Regions from separate parts of the Homo sapiens genome. Here regions 1, 3 and 4 are each linked to region 2. Evidence: promoter capture Hi-C in 16 types of primary human blood cells and fetal thymus (Javierre and others, 2016). All regions are on one chromosome and are shown on one strand. The core of a region is centred on a gene start or on the middle of the fragment in contact, and the rest is flanking DNA. Distances in the headings are between cores, read along the strand shown.

Region 1 (4,582 bases), core at 510-3,009, 210 kb after region 2:
TTTTTTTCTAATACAAAGAAAGAAAATCCAGCATTACTATAGAAGCCATTTACAAATCCATGATTCAAACAGAAAAAAAGTAGTAGATCTAGGGCAAAGGTATAGGGGGTGACGTGCTTATGTTCACTTAACTAACTGCAAAGTCAGAGGAATGCCGGATGTAATCAGTGAGTCAGGATGGCTCACAGAAAGGCAGGGGCCTGCAAGGTATAACCTTGATATCAGTCAGGTGAGTCTGTCTTAGAACACAACTAATGTGCACAGCCAGCCCTCCAACAATGGGCTTCTAGAAAGGGAAATGGAGATTTTTGTGATCTATCTTACATTGGGATGTGGTTTGAAATGATAAGTGTGAAGTAAAGAGAAGCCAAAAAAAAAAAAAAAAAAAAAAGCACACTCTCACCTTGTGGAAAAAGACTATTCAAATCAATATTCAACCAAAAAAAAACAAAACAAAACAAAACAAAAATCTATTTGGCCAACTAAATCCAATAAGAATACAACTTAAGAAAAATGATTCCGGCCGAGCGTGGTGGCTCATGCCTGTAACACTTTGGGAGGCCGAGGCGGGTGAATCACTTGAGGTCAGGGGTTCGAGACCAGCCTGGCCAACATGGCAAAACCCTGTCTCTACTATAAATACAAAAAATTAGCTGGGCGTGGTGGTGCATGCCTGTAATCCCAGCTACTTGGGAGGCTGAGGCAGGAGAATTGCTTGAACCCAGGAGGTGGAGGCTGCAGTGAGCTGAGATTGTGCCACTGCATTCCAGTCTGGGTGACAGAGTAAGACTCTGTCTGAAAAAAAAAAAGAAAAGAAAAAAGAAAAATGATTCCATCAGTGAAACTTTCCTTGATAGTTCTTTTTTTTTTTTTTTTTTTTGAGACAGAGTCTCGCTCTGTTGCCCAGGCTGGAGTGCAGTGGCGCGATCTCGGCTCACTGCAACCTCCGCCCACTGCAACCTCCGCCTCCCAGGTTCACGCCATTCTCCTGCCTCAGCCTCCCGAGTAGCTGGGACTACAGGCACCCGCCACCTTTTTTTTGTATTTTTAGTAGAGACGGAGTTTCACTGTGTTAGCCAGGATGGTCTCGATCTCCTGACCTCCTGATCCGCCCACCTCGGCCTCCCAAACCTTGACAGTTCTAACAGCAAGGGTATACTATGGCTCTAGAAACTGAACCAAAAGCTTTTTTTTTAAAACAATATGGAAAATATATAATTAGAAGTGCTAAGTAAATCTAAAGAAATGGGCTTCACACTAATAACAGGCCCAGATAAAATTCCCTTTCCTTTTAGACAGGCTAGTGAAAGGTATATTCTAATACATCGAGAATCAGAATCAGATTTGAATCCTCAAGCTCAAAAATCCATTCCCAGAGGGTATCCTACTCATTGCTAAGGGTTATGAGCAGGCTGGCTGCAGGGTAGATTTCATAAGACTCACACTAAGCCTATTCTGCTTTCCTGCAGACTCCTCACCTAACTCGGTATGTAATCAGCCAGTCACACACACATGCATGGTCTAGCCCTTGACTATCTTTTGTCCTTGCAGGCATGCTCTTCCCCTTGGTCTCTACAATTCACTAACACCAGCCTTCCATCAGTGTCTCAAGTATACCAAGCTCTTTGCTGCTTCTAAGCCTTTGTACGTGATGTTTTCCTTACTTGGAAGAGTTTCCTTCAAATCTTAGCTTACGCTTACACTTCCTCAGTGGAAATCTTCCCAGCCTAGGTTAGATGTTATGTGCTCTTGGTACCCGCCACTTCTCTTTTGAGACCCTTCATTCAATTCTAAGTACATTTCTGAACAGTCATTTAGTGTCTGACTTCCTTACTGGACTGCAAGTTTCATGACGGTCTGCCCTGTCCCCTGCTGTATTCCCAGCACCCTAGCTTAGTATGTGTGGCACACAAGTATGCAATATGTAGGTTTTGTTTGTTTAATTTTTTTTGAGATGGAGTTTAGCTCTTGTCACCCAGGCTGGAGTGCAATGGCACGATTTCGGCTCACTGCAACCTCCGGCTCCTGGGTTCAAGCAATTTTCCTGCCTCAGCCTCCCGAGTAGCTGGGATTACAGGCACCCGCCACCACGCCCAGCTAATTTTTTTTAAATATTTTTAGTAGAGACGGGGTTTCACCATGTTGACCAGGCTGGTCTCAAACTCCTCACCTCAGGTGATCCACCAAACTCAGCCTCCCAAAGTGCTGGGATTACAGGCTCAGTGAGCCACCGCACCCGGCCAATATGTAGTGTTTAAAAAAATAAATTTAAAAATTATAAATTAGGTATGTAAAAGACATACATACTTAAAAGTGGCTGGAAGCAAAGCTTTAACATGCTACCTGATAAGGGATGAAGAATGAATCCTGTGCTAAAATGGAGCATTCAAAATAGATGGATCCTATGCAACCAGTTGAGGACTTTCCCCAACAACAGTAGCAGAAACAAGGGCTGAGCTTTGGAGAGTGAGAGCCAGAAAATCTAGTATTCACCTCAGATGCAAAACACCAGGCTAGATGTTCCCAAATTAAGATTGTAACAGGTAGAAAGGACCCTGCCCTTCTGATAGTGAAGTCTATGCAGGTGACAGAGTAGAAATGGTGCAACTTTCTTGTTCTCTACTTTGGAGAGAATTCTCATTAACAAACTAACTTCTTTATCTAGGTTCTCCTATGTACAATATCCATTCTTATTTCTCACAAGGATATGGAAGGAAAACAACTGGTATTTCGCTTCTCCCTTCCCTCCATTCAAGCTTGCCTCATGTCTACAACTCACCTGAACAGCTCCTCCTAGCATGACAGCCACCAGCCCCATGGACATGCTCAGCGTCTGTGATTCCACGGTGCTCTCTGCCTGATGGGCCAGGCTTGCACAGGCTCTCTGCAATGTTGCTGCTACAAAGTCCACCACCTACCCAAAAAAGGGAATTGAGAATCAATGAGGAATGAAAAAAAAAAATCATAATTCTCCTTACATCTTATGTCTACATCCTCATCTTCTTCATCTACATCATGATAGCAAGAACCATCCAGAACAACTGCTACTTACCATGCAGATGTGATGTTCAGTGTTTTTTTTTTAAACATTTACCGGTTTATTATAAAGGTTATTACAAAGGACACAGATGAACAGACAGATGGATAGGACAAGCGGGTGGGGGTGTAGCTTCCATGCCCTCTCTGGGCTAGCCCCACTCCCAGCATCTCCACATGTTCAGCAAGCGGGAAGCTCCCAAGTGTTTCACATGTACAATCTCATTTAGTTCTCATATCAACTCTATGAGGTCAGTACTATTATCCTCATTGTGAAATGAAGAATCTGAGACTTTAAAAGGTTGTTTGTTTAAGGCCATACACTTAATAAATGAGAAAGCCTATTCATACTTTTCCAAATGTTTTAATATGCTACTCCAACTTCCTTAACTTTTCATGAATTTTGCCTGAAAATTAAAAAGCAAAATGACTTGTAAATTAACTTAAAATGGATCACGGACTGCAATGCAAAATACAAAATTATAAACTCCTCGAAGATAACATGAAAAATCTAGATGATCTTGGGTATGGTGATGACTTTTCAGATACAACACCAAAGGCACAATCCGTGAAAGAAAGTAATGATAAGCTGGACTTCACTGAAGTTAAAAATTCCTGCTCTGCGAAAGACACTGTCAAGAGAATACAAAGAGAAGCCACAGACTGGGAGAAAATATTCATCCACAACAGTCTGACAAGAGACTGTTTTCCAAAATTTACAGAGAACTCTTAAAGCTCAATAATAAGAAAACCTGGGTTGAGCACGGTGGCTCACGCCTGTAATCCCAGCACTTTGGGAGGCTGAGGTGGGTAGATCACTTGAGGTTAGGAGTCGAGACCAGCCTGGCCAACATGGTGAACCCTGTCTCTACCAAAAAATTATCTGGGCATGGTGGCACACCTGTGGTCTCAGCTACTCGGGAGGCTGAGGTGGAAGAATCGCTTGAACCAGGAAGTGGAGGTTGCAGTGAGCTGAGATAGCACCACTACACTCCAGCCTGGGCAACGGAGTGAGATCCTATCTCAAAAAAAAAAAAAAAAAATTAGCCAGGCATAGTGGCAAGTGCCTATAGTCCCAGCTACTCAGGAGACTGAGGTGGGAGGACTGCTTGAGCCCAGGAGGTCAAGGCTGCAGTAAGCCATGATGGTGTCACTGCACTCCAGCCTGTGTGACAGAGAGAGATCCTATCTTGAAAAGAAAAGAGCCCAATTAAAAATGAGCAAAAGTCCTGAACCGACATCTCACCAAAGAAAATATACAGACGGCAAAAAAGCATATGAAAAGATGCTCCACATCCTATGTCACTGGAGAACTGGAAATGAAAGCACTGGTGATATACTGTTACACACCTAATAGAATGGCCAAAATCCAGAGAACTGATTTCACCAGGAATGCTGGTGAGGATGGAGATCAACAGGAGCTCTCTCATTCATTCATTGCTGCTGGGAATGCAAAATGGTACAGCCACTTAGGCAGACAGTTTGGCAGTTTCTTACAAAACTAAACATACTTTCACCATACAGTCTAGCCATTGCTTGCCTTGAT
Region 2 (4,502 bases), core at 962-3,461:
AGAGGGAGGCAGAGGTTGCAGTGAGCCAAGATCACGCCACTGCACTCCAGCCTGGGTGACAGAGCAAGACTCCGTCTCCAAAAAAAAAAAAAAAAAGAAAAAGAAAAAAAAAGAAAATCACAGGATGCAATAAGCACACGCCAGCGCATGTTCTTCATACCACAGAATGTAACCCATTTGTGGTGGTCCTGTAGTTTTTACCTTTTGATTAGTTCTTCAGGGGTGAGCTCAGTAAATCATCCCTTTCCACATTTCCTAAACCCACCTCTCAGGGAAGGCAATTCTCTGAATTGCCTTCCCTGAAGGCAATTCAATGAAGGTTCTATGCCTGTGTTTCGGTTTATCATATTTATTTTACAGGTTGGAAACTGTACACTTATCTTTCTCCCACTGGTCTTTGAGCTCCGTAAAGTTAGGGCCTCTGACATTTGTCTTAGTGCCCAGTATTTGCCACTCATTCACCGAGAAACATTTACAGAATGCCTAAATTCCAGGTACCAGGCTGCTGGGCACTGAATTCACTCATTTGCCCATCTACTCATTTATATCACAGCACCCAGTACATAACAGTCATTCAACATGAACTAAGATGTTGCACCCGAAGAAAATCACTAGTCAGTGCCCTTGGAGGGGAGAAGAAAAAGGACTAATAGACCTCTGCATACACCCAAAGGACATTTTACCTAATTTTAAATCTCCTTTACTCCCAAATGTAGACATGTAGGTCTACATTCTCTCAGACAGATGAACTTTGGAATCCATCTTCCCACATCACCAAAAAGTTTCTGATATTAAAACGTGTTATCATTTTTTCTGAATTGACAATGAAACAGTACTGATACTCCCTGCAGGAAATTTTGCTTACCAAAGCTGCAATGGTGTTGAGACTGATATACCAACAATTTCCCTTCCTGTGTCCAAAAGATCCAGCAAACCTCAGTTTCCAATGACAGGCAGTGAGATGTCACATTTCTAGGTAGGACCCTTCTAATCAACATTACACAGATTGAAACTGAGCTTCTCTTATCAGTTAGGAGATCTCAGAAGTTTGGTAGTTCTAAGCAACTTCAGAGGGGCTAGGAAGTCACTCAATCAGTTTGATTATAAAAGACATACAAGCTTCTTGAACTTCAGAAGAAATTAACATCAAAACACCATATCAGACTCCCAAATGACTTACTTTCTCCTGAAAGTAGTTTGCTGACAAGTTATAAATTTCCACAGTGCCATCTGTTCGTGAAACAGCCAATCTGTTTGACTGGTTATTGTAAGCCACACAGCGGATTCCTGATGGAACATAATTAAAGAAACGTACTCGATGGACCTTAAATTCACCCATTCCTAGGGGGCGAAAAGAGAGTCATTATTGCTATATGTTAACTGCAGTATGTCACATATAGTATTCAGTTCCTTAATATCACTGTTCTGGCTGGAAGGCTCCAACAACATCTCCCTGAAGTTCATTTCCAAATGGCTGCTAACAATGCCCCCCACAAGAATTACTCAATCTTCAAAAGCTCAGAATGGCTTGAATAATAAGGAGGCTTCAGCAAAAAATCAAAAAGGGTCCTACTCCATAGCTCCAGAGTTCCTATCTCGGGGCGCCTAGGAATCCGCATTTTAGCAAGCATCTCTCCTCAACTCTATTGCTAAGTTTGCAAACAACAGACCTAAACTGAGGTAGTGACAGTGAGGCTGATGGGGCAGGCAGAACCGAGCTCCTCTTGAGGAAGAAACGACAGGGTTTGACTTAATCTGGCTGCCTGGTCTGACGTCTGTCACTTACCCTACCCCGTCCCCCCGACGCCCGCCAACATATATACTGGCCGAGAGTAGAGACCAGGTCTTGTTCGCCCCTCACTGGCCTAGCTTCAAGGTTAGGAACCCGCAGACAGAGCAAGCGCGTTCGGTCGGGCCGGGGCGTCTGAGGCGCGCGCGGTCTTCGCCTCCCCTTCCCTCTCCCCGAGTCTACAGAGTAGCCCCCACCCCGCCTCGGGACAAGGAGACCCTCGGGACAAGGAGCTCAGCCGGACGCCGACCCTGGGCCGGCCACCTTGTAAGACCCCCCCAGCTCTCGCAGCCGCTTCCCACGCCCCTTCCCCAACTCACCAGCGGCCCCACGCTCCCCTTCCCGGTGCTCGCCTCTCTCCGCCCCGGCCCCACGTGCGCGCGCGCTCTCAGGCTCTGCCCCGGAAGTGCTCCTGGCGCATAGTCGGAAGTGCGCAGGCAGTGCTCGCGGCGGCGGCGACGGCGGCGGGAGGTTCGGTTGTCGCCCGTTGGCCGCGCGGCGCCGCGCTCGGCGGCCGCCATTGCAGGTCAGGCCGCGGGCGGGGGGCACGGGAGGCTGCGGGGAGCGAGGGCCGAGCCGGGATTGGGGGCGAGGGCGCGAGGGAGCGGGAAGCTAGGGAGCCGGGGCCGGGCGGGGCGCGCGGCTCGGAGAGAAGAATGGCGAGCCGAGGGGCGGGGAGCGCGGGCGGGGGAGGGGTGGCCGGGAAGGGGGAGGGCGGCGGGAGGGCGGCGCGGAGGTGGGGGCAAGCCCGGAGGGGCCTCCGGGGTGGGAGGGCCAGGAGTGTGGGGGAAGGGAGCGGTGTGGAGACGGAAGGCGGAGGGAAGGAAGGGAGCGAGCGGGGCGGAGCGGGAGAAGGGCGGAAAGGGTGGCCGAGCGCGGGCGGAGGACGGAGAAGGGGGCGGCGAGGGCCGGAATCTCGAGGTACGTGCGGGAAGGGGCTCTTCCCGGGGTTGGGAGGGAGCCCAGCCCGCTATGCTTGCGGGAGCGGAGTAGAACTGGAACCTAGGAAGTAGCGGGAAGAGCAGAAAGGGGAGTTCGGGGTGGGGGTTAGGACCGTGAGGTTTTGTTCCAGGTAACATTTGTAATCGTGGAGGGGGGAGGCTTCTGGGAGAGGTAATTGGAAGGGTGGTTGGAGAGTCATTCCAGGTTCTTTTGTGGGAGGGAAGCCGAGAGACGAGTGGGGTGGGGTCCTGGAGGAGTGGAGTACTTGAGAACCGGGAACAATTTGGAGAACGAGGGTGGTAGAGAAAGGACGTTTAAAGAGTAATCTTTGGGAAGAGGGTGAACGGTTTGGAAGACCACTCCAGTGGGTGGTGTGGAGGAAGGCGGTTTAAAGAATAGTTTCCCTGGGAGGCAGGAAAAGGGGTTAAAACAGCTTGTAATTTGGAGGGGGGTGGAGAAGAGGGGGGAAGCGGATTGAGAAGTCCCAGAAAGTGGGTGGGACTAGAAATAGGAAGTGTTTGTAGCTCTAGCAGAAAGGGTGGGAGGGGGCCGAGAGGGAGTGGGTGGAGAAGATGGGGGTGGGTGGGAGGAAGAGCACAGAGGGAGACTCTACGCCGGGCTAGAAAGGAAAGGGTTTGGGGGAGTACAGGGGGCCGTACCATTAAGAGGAGGACAGGCTAAGATGGGGCTGCAGAGTAGCAGAAGATGGAGAAAACTGCAGTAACTCAGATCGACTGAAGCCATCTTTTCCACCCATTGCTACAAATACCAGTAATTGATTCCCTCCAACGTGGGAATCCTAAAATGTGATGGGAAGTATCACGTGTATGCATAGCATCCACACACGTTTTTGAACACACTTCACTAATGTAAAGTTTGGAAGCATTCAATTCCACCAACCCTCCATAAGCCCCTTTTTGGAGGGGAGCAAGATTCTCATTTGGAAACAGGATTTTAGACTTAGTAACATAAGCCTTTCAAGAGACAAGATCCCCTTCAAAAGTATAGACCTGTCCCCTTCAGTTACAAAACCACGATAACACTACAAATAAAAATAATCTGTATTCGGTTGTATGTAAAACGTTCTGAGTTGTTCACTTGGTAGAAAGGCACATAGAGACATAGTCATCATATTTAGAGAAATTACCTTCCAGAACTTAATCCCTGAAGCAGTTTGGTGAACCACAACTGCCATGTTTGAATTCTACTGTTATGAAAACTTGATTTTATTCTGATGACCTGCTGCTTTCGTAGAATGCTTTAGTCCGTTATAAACATTAATATGCTAACACAGTGTAGTATTAAGACATTCTATTTGATGAATACTAAGAAAATGCCACCTTTCTCTGGGAAATCGATAGCTTGACCCTGAAGGCTTACCATGTGTCAGACAATGTGCTAAAAGCTTTACATTCATTACTCGTTCTTGCAACAGCCTTTCAAAATAGGTGTTTATGCCCAGTGTATTGTTAGGAAAACACGTGAGGTTAAACTACCCACTGTCACATATGGGATAGGTGGCAAAATCACAGAATCCAGGTCTGTATGACAAGTGAGTGCTTCACTATATTCGTAAACAAAGTATCCACCCTGGGATCAAAAAACAAAAGCTCAATAAATGCCAACTGTTGGCCTAGCAAAAAATAGAAAATTGTGAATATTTACACTCTGAAATAATTGATTTCACCCCAGTTTAGAAAAGAATGTTTAAGGGTTGAGAATTTAAAGGCTTGGTTTCCTGTTTGAAAAAAAAACAAAATTTCTAAAACGT
Region 3 (4,714 bases), core at 544-3,043, 170 kb before region 2:
TGGCGAAAAAAAAAAAAGAAAAAAAAATCCATAAAAATTAGCCAGGTGTGGTGGCACACACCTGTGGTCCCAGCTACTCAGGAGGCTGAGGTGAAAGGATCATTTGAGCCCAGAAGGTTGAGGCTGCAGTCAGCTATGATCATACCACTGCACTCCAACCTCGGTGACAGAGTGAGAACCTGTCTCAAAAAAAAAAGAAGGAAAAAAAAGAACAAATTCTGGTTTATCAGCTAAGTGCATTCATTCAGCTGGAAAAGCTTTGTTACCATTCAACTTAGGAGGATAAATTAGGAAAACAATCAGTAATAATGTTAGGTATTTGTTGTTTAGAAAGATTTTTTTACTTATAAAAATATAAGAAATAAATAATCCAATCTCTCCTGCCATGCAATAATTTTGAGTAACAAAGTTTGTGAGAGTACAGAACATAAAAACAGGCACTATCAGACCTTCTTTGGCCTAAAAAGTGCTAAAACATGGCTTTAAAATAGGTGAATGACATTTAAAGTAGTATTTTTGACTGCCTATATATGTTCCAGTATTTAACCTGAAACTCTTATCTACTAGGGAGGTGAGTTTACAGTTACAACTATCTAATAAATACTGCAGGAACTTATATTTAAGTATTTCTTCATATACAACATTAGAAACTAATTTCCAGATAATGTTTCATTTGATGACTTCAGGAAAGGACTTACCTTTTTCAGAAAAAGAAAAACTGAATGTTTTTCTTTTGTTCCTTTCCTTTTCTTTTTATGGAGAGAAAGGAGAGAAGTTTTAGGAGAAAAGGTGGGAGACTTTTCATATACCAACTCGCTGCTCCTAGGCATCTGTGTGGAATGTGGAGAAGCTGTCGAAGCCCCGGGTCTGGGGGGCACAGGAAGCAGTCCCTCTGAATGGGGAGCAGACACTATTCTGCAGTTTCCTTTCCATTCCACACACTGGAACCCACCACATCCTCAACAATTTTCTTAATTCAAAATGAAAAAGAAATGAAAAGTGAGCTGGTTCTATAAAAAAGGTAGAATATCGAAAATTCCCATTTGTAGTTATCATTTGGAAATAATTTGCCATACTTTGGCATCTAAATATAAATACATATTTATCATGGTGTCCCATTCATTAGAGAGCACTTCATTTGCGGACTGAAAATCCCACAAACACATTTGATTGAAGAACAACCTTGGTCATCATGACTGGAGAGCTGTTAGGTATGTAAGAAAAGCAGCAAAAGGGTTCTGGTTCTTGGGGCTGCTAATGGACAAAGGAAACCTCCCACACTTTCATTTCACAGCAAGACTCAAAAGATATTAAGAACCCTACAGACCTCAGTGCTATACATGTCAGTTTAACCTTGACCAAAATGAGTGAAAATGCACACATGCCTTGCCTTTCCTGCTCACATTTTAATTCCACCTATTTTACATCCTCATATAACCAACAAGCAGGGTGGCTCAGAAGCTCCCCTGCAAATCTCAGTGGCTTAGCTTTTCACATTAACACAGAAAACCTCAACCAAATGGCTTTGCTGCTGAAGTCTGTAAAGGCATCATTCAACATCTCATATTAATAATGCTCTCACTGCATAGAGGGTTCAAGATTGCCTACCTGAGGGTATTACATATTGAAATTCTGATTCCAGAAATCATTTCTGGACGTTCAAGAGATTTTTTTCCTTCTCTGAAATGAAAATTTATTGTGGGCCAGGCACGGGGGCTCACACCTATAATCCCAGCACTTTGGGAGGCCAAGGCAGGTGGATCACTTGAGGTCGGGAGTTCAAGACCAGCCTAGCCAACATGGTGAAAACCTGCCTCTACTAAAAATACAAAAATTAGCTGGGTGTGGTGGTGGGTAGCTATAACCCCAGCTACTCAGGAGAATCACTTGAACCTAGGAGGTGGAGGTTGCAGTGAGCCGAGATCATGCCACTGCACTCCAGCCTGGGAGACAGAACGAGACTCCGTCTCAAAAAAAAAAAGAAAAGAAAATTTATCTCAGATGGAGCCAATCTTAGGTTTATGAACTTTCAAAACATAAAAAGCTCTTGAAAGACATATTCTTGTCTAGATTTTAATTTCCAGTTTTAAGCAGTTCAGATAATTCATTTTTGGAACTTTGACAATTATATGAAGCTGGGGGAAGAACAGGCATCTCTCCCCAACCTCTGCATATTGTTGGTTTCACTGTAATGAGGAAGGAGGACTGACTTATGGGTGAAGGAGGACAATGGAGTTACAATGTTGACCTAGAACTCTCTCTGCTCATGGGTCCTCCCCATCGGTCAGGCCGCACTGAAACCAAATAGCTCATTTTGCACACAGGTGTGTTTTTCTCTTCTTTTCTCCCCCTGTGCCTGCCCCATCTGAAGTGACACCCTCCTCCACCCTCCACAGCGCTCACATTCTTCCGTGGCACTCTTGATCAATCAAGCAAACAAGAACTTTCCCTAGACCTTTCTTCAGAGAGCATAAAGAACATCCAAGTCAATATTACCTATTCTTTGAGATCCAGGGACTGTGCTAATTTTGACATTTTATATGATATTATACCATTTTAAATGTTTGCAGATATATACCACCTTCAAAATTAGGAAAAACAAGCTGAGTTCATTTTCTAACACTACAAAATCAGCATTCTTGCTGCTACTGTGTCCTAATGATATCTGGCAATCTTAACCAAAAGCAGGTAGCTGTTCCACGGTCTCATCACCCTGCTCACTGTAGGGTGTGCTGTGAAGCCAATAGTAAGTCTCGAATTAGCAGTTGCTTGTCCATGCCACTGCTGCCACAAAGGGCCAGGCCACAGCCAGGATGCTGCATCCTGTTGTTTTTGGGCAGCCCAAAACAATTCAACATGACGTTTGTGCGGAATTGCTGGCTTCACCCACCAAGTCTACTCCTCAAGCAGGCTGGCTCTTTAGGATTTATCTTGTTCAAACAGATCTGCCTACTAGAAGAGATGCCATTAAGGAAACCCACCTCAATGACTATTCCTCAAAACTAGGATAGGTGATCTCCTGGAAATGGCAGTGATTTCCAGTTATTCAAATAGTGACTAATAAAGCTCCACTAACCCTAACCAAAGGCACATTTGGTAAGCAATAAAAAAAATGGCTTAACCTAGGAAGAGGATTTTCATTTAAAATAAATCTTATCCCCTGGCTCCTAACAAAAATAAAATTGGAAAAACCTAAACCAAGCAAAACTTTTCTTTAAAAGCAGTGGCTTCCAACTTGCTTTTCAACTCAGTCACCACTAGAAAGGAAGTAGAAGGCAAGGCAAATCAAATTTACAAGTTCTAAGTCCTAGAGACAGTGGCAAAGCTTGGGATAAGGTGGGAAGTGATGGCCAGGCTGAGATAGAGGGAGATCCAGGGCAAATGGAACAACCCTTTGGTGATACAATTCAAGGACTTCCTATGGTGGAAGGAGCTAGTGAGGACAGTAAATTCCAAGACATACGACCTATCTGGAATGCTCAGGAAGCAACAGGCTGCTGCAAGCTAGCACCTGGGAAGGGACAATTGTTCTGAACAAGAGATCAAGGCTAAGCACAACACAAATCCTACAGGGAGAAGAAAAAGAAAACAATGCTTGGGTATTTGATTATGTCTAAAAATGAAAACAATGAAAAAAAAAGAAAACAATGAGCCATTCTTTTTAGCAGTAGAAATAAACCTAATTACTCATAAACCATATTTTGAAATGAGAATAAATCAACAGCTTCATTTTGGAGCCTTTTAGAGTGCTAGAATATCTGGCCAAGGTAGACTGTGAAAGGTAGGCTCTTCTTTAAACACGGTTATGGTTCAGCAGTTATTTGCAGGTCCTTGGGAAGGCACTGTGCTGAAGGAGAGCAAAGAGTTTCTTTTTGTGCTTTTTTTTTTTTGAGGTGGAAATATTTCTTGTGACAGTCAAGGCTCTTTTCTGATTTTTTGTTGCTCATACAAGCAGTCCCATACGAGTGACTTTGGCCGATAAAAACGTGTGCAACACAAATACAATCGGCTTCGGACAAGAGTGCAGGTCCATGGTCTGTGGAGAAAGGACACTAAGCATCACTACCTCACTACCATATACAGACAACTTAATAAACGAAGATGCAAAATAAATTTAAGGTAGGTAAAGAATGTGCCAGAGCTATGGAAACTCTTAGGAACTTAAAGCCACAGGCAAAAGTGCACTATGGAGTAAGGTTATTCCATGTCATAATACTGGTGTGAGGTTTCACATCCCCAATTAGGAGACAACTGGTGGTGTACTGGGTTTCACCATGCCTGGTAGGAAGAACTAAATAGTAGAGGATTTAAAATCTAAGGCCAGGCACGGTGGCTCACGCCCATAATCCCAGCACTTTGGGAGGCTGAGGCGGGCAGATCATGAGGTCAGGAGATTGGGACCATCCTGGCTAACACGGTGAAACCCCATCTCTACTAAAAATACGAAAAATTAGCCAGGCATGGTGGCACGTGCATGTAATCTCAGCTACTCGGGAGGCTGAGGCAGCAGAATTGCTTGAACCAGGGAGGCAGAGGTTGCAGTGAGCTGAGATGGTGCCACTGCACTCCAGCCTGGGCGACAAAGCGAGACTCCGTCTCAAAAAAGAAAAAAAAAAGAAAAATGACGGCAACAAAAACCAACACCCAATGCCATCTTGAAAACTGAAGAAGAGCAGATACAGTGGCTCACACCTGTAATCTCAACACCTTGGGA
Region 4 (4,677 bases), core at 1,401-3,900, 190 kb before region 2:
TGGCGCTGGAGCTCCCCGAGGCGCTGTGTCGGGAGTGCCCGCCCCGCCAGCGCGCGCTCCGCCAAATGGAGCCCTTCCCCCTGCGCGTGTTCGTGAACCCCAGCCTGCGAGTGCTTGACAGCCGCCTGGTCACCTTTCCCGAGGGCTGCGAGAGCGTCGCCGGCTTCCTGGCCTGCGTGCCCCGCTTCCAGGCGGTGCAGATCTCAGGTGCGGGCGGCGGGGACCGGGGCTGCTGGAGCAGCGCGCGCGTCTCTTCTGCCCGACTCCGCGAGAGCGCAGAAGTGGTCGCGGTTCATACGCCGGACCTCCCGCAGGAGCGAAGTGGGATGCGGGAGCGGAGAGGCCTCAGGACGGATAGAAGCTCCTGTGGGGTAGAGCCCGCTCAGATAGGACGCAGGGGCGAGGAGAGGTCCCCTAGTTCCGCTGTTACCTGACAGCCTGGCGTCTGCTTTCTGCTCCCTTGCTCTCTGAGGCAAACACGCTCTTCGGCCCCAGTTAGATCCGCCACGGTGGAGTTGGAGAAGTGGGGGTTAGCCCCCGCCAGCCTGACCCAGCCCAGGGGGCTAGGCCATTCCCCCGTGGTACCACAGGATGCCTCGCGGAATGCGGGCTCTGCTGGGGTCGGGGTGATTGTTCCTGCACAGCAAGCCCGTCGGTTCAAGATGGTCAGAAAAACAAGTGGGGTCTCAAGCTGCAGAACCTCTGTTAGGAGTTGGGAGCCCACAGGTACCTCAGAAGTGGGAGGAGTGTTCGGAAGGGTCGCACCGTAGAAAGATGATTTCTCATCTCAGCTCTACAGTGAGCTCGATAACCTAATTACCAGAGTTGGGAACCAGGTTGAACGCTTGGTAATGGACCGAGATGAGGGACGTTTTCCAGTTAGAAGAGGAGCTGCTGTCTACATTTGCCATCTGCTGTTGCCTCTTGTCAATGGGAACAGCCAGGACCGGGGGCAGGGGTAGGGAGGTTGAGGATGATGCAGTTCAGCTGTTCCCACTCACCAGGGCTGTAACTTCCTTTGCAGGGCTGGACCCCAATGGAGAACAGGTGGTGTGGCAGGCGAGCGGGTGGGCAGCCCGCATCATCCAGCACGAGATGGACCACCTGCAGGGCTGCCTGTTTATTGACAAAATGGACAGCAGGACGTTCACAAACGTCTATTGGATGAAGGTGAATGACTAAAGCTTTGCTACTGGGGCTGAGGATTCCGGATACCAAGACGCAAACACTTTCACTTTGAGCTGGGCAAATCTTACTTGGCATCAACTTGGATGGCTCGCATATGACAGGAAACTGGATTGCCAAGGCATGGCAGACTGAGCTGGAGGAAGATGTCAGAAATGTTTGCCCTGAAATCAGTTACGGACAAAATGTTGGCTACAACTTGAGGAGAAAAATCACCCCCAAAGGAGTGGACATTTCCTAACAATTCTGTATGGAGGAAGGTGGGGTAATTGCATTCGTCTGCAGTAGACACGAGTTCCTCGGACCTGTATAATCTCCCAAAGCCAAGGTTTGGTAATAATGTAGTCCCCAAATACCTGAAAGCTGTCTTTAAAAATGCAGGTAAGCATGTGACTGGCCATTTGTGCCGAGTTCTTATTTTTACGGAGGGCTTGTGGCCTTAGACGCCAGTTTGCTTATGGAAATGAAAGAGAATAGTCCCTGTTCAAGGATGTGTTTCATGACAGCACGAGTGTAAATGAGTGCCCACACATTTTAACAGCCTTGGGCAGGATTTTGCTGCTGAGATCCCTAGAGCAGCTGGTTCTTGGCTCATTCTTGGGGTAGAGGCCGTGGATCAGGGCTGGGGGCAGGGGTGACAATTGAGAAGTGCACTGAGCCCTTTCCTGTTAACAATTGGGCATAGAAAGCAGGATTAGTACTTCCTGGTTATACACTTATTTTGTAAAAATAGAATTAATATCACAGCAACCAATGTGTAGGTTTAAGAAAGTGGCCAGGTGCAGTGGTTCACGCCTGTAATCCCAGCACTTTGGGAGGGCGGGGCGGGTGGATCACGAGGTCAGGAGCTCAAGACCAGCCTGGCCAAGATGGTGAAACCCTGTCTCTACTAAAGATACAAAAATTAGCCGGGCGTGGTGGCGAGCACCTGTAATCCCAGCTACTCGTGAAGCCAAGGCAGAGAATTACTTGAACCCAGGAGGCGGAGGTTACAGTGAGCTGAGATCACGCCACTGCACTCCATCCAGCCTGGGCGACAGAGCGAGACTCAAAAGTATGATTCTGGCTGTAGAGTTTTCTTTTTTTCTCTGTCTCAAAAAAAAAAAGTGTCAGCTTTGTCTTGTCAAGAGGTGAAGGAACTTGTTTTATTCTTTTATTTTTTTTTTAAGATAGAGACGGGGGTCTTACTATGTTGCCCAGGCTGGCCTCAAATTCCTGGTCTCAGGCAATCCTCCTGCCTCGGCCTCCCAAAGTGCTGGGATCAGTTGTGAGCCACACTACCCAGCCAAACTCCAGTTTTAGTTAAACTGTTTCACCTCATTTTTATGCTGAGTTTTGTAAAGTAGGTATTCTTGCTGAACAGAGTCCTGAAAATCAAACTATACAAGTAGTAGGAAGTCCATTAAGCTGTTTAGAGGAAAAAGTGTTATAAATGGCAGTTAAATGAACCCAGGAAAGACCCATCCTCCTTTGTGGCTTTCTCTGAGGCCCCATGAGGCCAAGCAGAAGCAAACTGGCTCTAGGTGCAGCCAGACTTTGAAAAGGAATCCCGGCCAGGCTTGGTGGCTCATGCCTGTAATCCCAGCACTTTGGGAGGTCAAGGCAGGCAGATCACCTGAGGTCAGGAGTTCAAGACCAGCCTGGCCAACATGGCGAAACACTGTTTCTACTAAAAATATGAAAATTAGCTGGGTGTGCTGGTAGGCGCCTGTAATCACAGCTACTTGGGAGGCTGAGGCGGGAGAATCGCTCAAACCTGGGAGGCAGAGGTTGCAGTGGGCTGAGATCTCGCCACTGTACTCCAGCCTGGGCGACAGACCAAGGCTCTGTCTCAAAAAAAAAAAAAAAAAAAAAAAAAGGGAATCCCAACCAGATACTGGTGCAAGGTCAGAGATGCAGCCAATGGGGAGATTTGTAGAAAGCTCATAGATGCTAAAAACATGGGTCTTTAGGAAAATTAGAATTCAGCTGAGCCTCCTTTCATTTGGACAATGTTCAGAAGCTCTTACAGGGGGCTATGGCAATCTTTTGATGCTTCTTATAGCTTTCTGAGGTTAACGCTTTTGTGGTGGGCATCGGTAGCAATAAAATGCAAACTTTATTGCATTTCCAGTAAAATCTCTCCCACTTTGAGCAGGAAGCACTCACAAAAAACGCATATACATGTCAACGTTGTGAGCTCATCAGAGTTTTAGAAATCAACTTCCACAGTGAAAGCCAATGTAGGCAGAAGGTTTATAACAGAATCCCCAGGCAGAGAAGTGAATTTCAGAGCATTTCAGGGAGGAAACTCCTCTGCACATGTCAGCATGTTTAACATCGATGATGGCAGGTTGTGTGCTGGCAGCCAGAGTCTGAGGCCACTGTCCAAAGTTCAGCGTCAGTGGTTCCTGTTGCTGGTCATGGAGAGAGACAACTGGAAAGTCAGGTGTCTTCACGCTCTAACTAGAGCACAGGGATGGACCATAGCCATGCTAACCTTTGTTAACCCCTAGGACTTGTCAAGGTGTTTAAGCAGTAGGAATGAGGAAACAACGTTCTGATTCAAGTAAATGTAACTAGAAGTAAAAATTTAAAAACTTGTAAGCTCACTAAAGTGAAGCTCTGCAGACACGGTTCATATCCTGGTGGCTGAGGGCACATAACCAAGAACTTACACAAGCACCCCCAAGCCACAAAGATCCCAGCTGCTATGGTTGAGGGGTAACCTGCCAGCACTGGAGCCAAGTGTTGGAGCTACTGATCCAAAGTTAGCTCACTTCTGCAGAGGCTCTGAACCAGAGCAAAGAAATGGCCCAGTGCAAGCCCAGTGTGAGCCAAGAGTTGGCCATGTAATCAGTTCTGGCCCAACCAGGTTTGAAAGGTAGAGGAGCAGTACTGGGTTTTGGAGAGGGAAGGTTGGAACAAAGCCCTTTGCAGGCTATAAGCTTCATTTACTAGGCCAGGTCTTTCTGTGTGAATGTGCTTTGACTTTGGTCTGTTTATATGCATGGGGTAAACGTGGGACAGCCTCTGCAGCTTCACTGCCTGCCGGACGTGGGTCCAGGGCTGCCAGCTCTGGGTCCTTGGTCTGTTGGGGGTCGCAAACTGAAATGGCCATGGGGCTATCTGGGCAGGCAACACAGATGAGTGGGGATGGGGGACCCCTTCTGTACAGAGCAGCCTCTACTTAGTGGCCGCTGACAGGCTGCCCCATGAGGACGCAGGCCCAACATTACCTAATTTAATCTTCTAGAAGTCAGAATTCTGAATTTTTATGTCAACTCTCGACTTTTTTTTTTTTTTTGAGACAGAGTCTTGCTCTGTCGCCCAGGCTGGAGTGCAGTGGCGCGATCTCGGCTCACTGCAAGCTCCGTCCCCCGGGTTCACGCCATTCTCCTGCCTCAGCCTCCCAAGTAGCTGGGACTGCAGGCGCCCACCACCACGCCCGGCTAATTTTTTTATTTTTAGTGAGACGGGGTTTCACTGTGTTAGCCAGGATGTTCTCGATTT

What was found. Contacts are between HindIII fragments. The CHiCAGO score rates a contact against its expected background, and 5 or more counts as called.
Region 1: a fragment that was not itself captured here is called in contact with the fragment with the promoter of CHTF8 in region 2 in 1 of 17 cell types (endothelial precursors); the score reaches 5.2 in endothelial precursors.
Region 3: a contact is called between a fragment that was not itself captured here and the fragment with the promoter of CHTF8 in region 2, in 14 of 17 cell types (endothelial precursors, M2 macrophages, megakaryocytes and 11 more). The highest score is 10.2, in endothelial precursors.
Region 4: a contact is called between a fragment that was not itself captured here and the fragment with the promoter of CHTF8 in region 2, in 1 of 17 cell types (endothelial precursors). The highest score is 6.1, in endothelial precursors.

The regions. Positions count from the first base shown.
Region 1 is chr16:68,917,417-68,921,998 of GRCh38, reverse strand. TANGO6 (transport and golgi organization 6 homolog) reads right to left here. Exons shown (of 18, transcript NM_024562.2): 12 at 2,780-2,914. Among named protein-coding and RNA genes, the nearest start is that of TANGO6, 76 kb to the right of the region's middle. The HindIII fragment of the contact is 1,144 bases long and covers 1,188-2,331 here.
Region 2 is chr16:69,130,297-69,134,798 of GRCh38, reverse strand. CHTF8 (chromosome transmission fidelity factor 8) reads left to right here and starts at 2,211. Exons shown (of 4, transcript NM_001039690.5): 1 at 2,211-2,315. It overlaps DERPC (DERPC proline and glycine rich nuclear protein), which reads left to right and starts at 2,211. Exons shown (of 3, transcript NM_001002847.4): 1 at 2,211-2,315. It overlaps UTP4 (UTP4 small subunit processome component), which reads right to left and starts at 2,150. Exons shown (of 17, transcript NM_032830.3): 1 at 2,110-2,150; 2 at 1,181-1,341. The coding sequence starts at 1,339. RefSeq lists silencers at 2,102-2,461, 2,482-2,631. The HindIII fragment of the contact is 3,017 bases long and covers 1,122-4,138 here.
Region 3 is chr16:69,300,154-69,304,867 of GRCh38, reverse strand. It overlaps SNTB2 (syntrophin beta 2), which reads right to left. Exons shown (of 7, transcript NM_006750.4): 7 at 1-4,036. The coding sequence ends at 3,944. Among named protein-coding and RNA genes, the nearest start is that of VPS4A, 8.8 kb to the left of the region's middle. The HindIII fragment of the contact is 3,068 bases long and covers 260-3,327 here.
Region 4 is chr16:69,325,527-69,330,203 of GRCh38, reverse strand. It overlaps VPS4A (vacuolar protein sorting 4 homolog A), which reads right to left. Exons shown (of 11, transcript NM_013245.3): 11 at 3,265-4,677. It overlaps COG8 (component of oligomeric golgi complex 8), which reads left to right. Exons shown (of 6, transcript NM_032382.5): 6 at 1,025-3,776. PDF (peptide deformylase, mitochondrial) reads left to right here. Exons shown (of 2, transcript NM_022341.2): 1 at 1-207; 2 at 1,025-3,291. The coding sequence ends at 1,182. Among named protein-coding and RNA genes, the nearest start is that of PDF, 2.7 kb to the left of the region's middle. RefSeq lists an enhancer at 1-250. The HindIII fragment of the contact is 2,928 bases long and covers 1,187-4,114 here.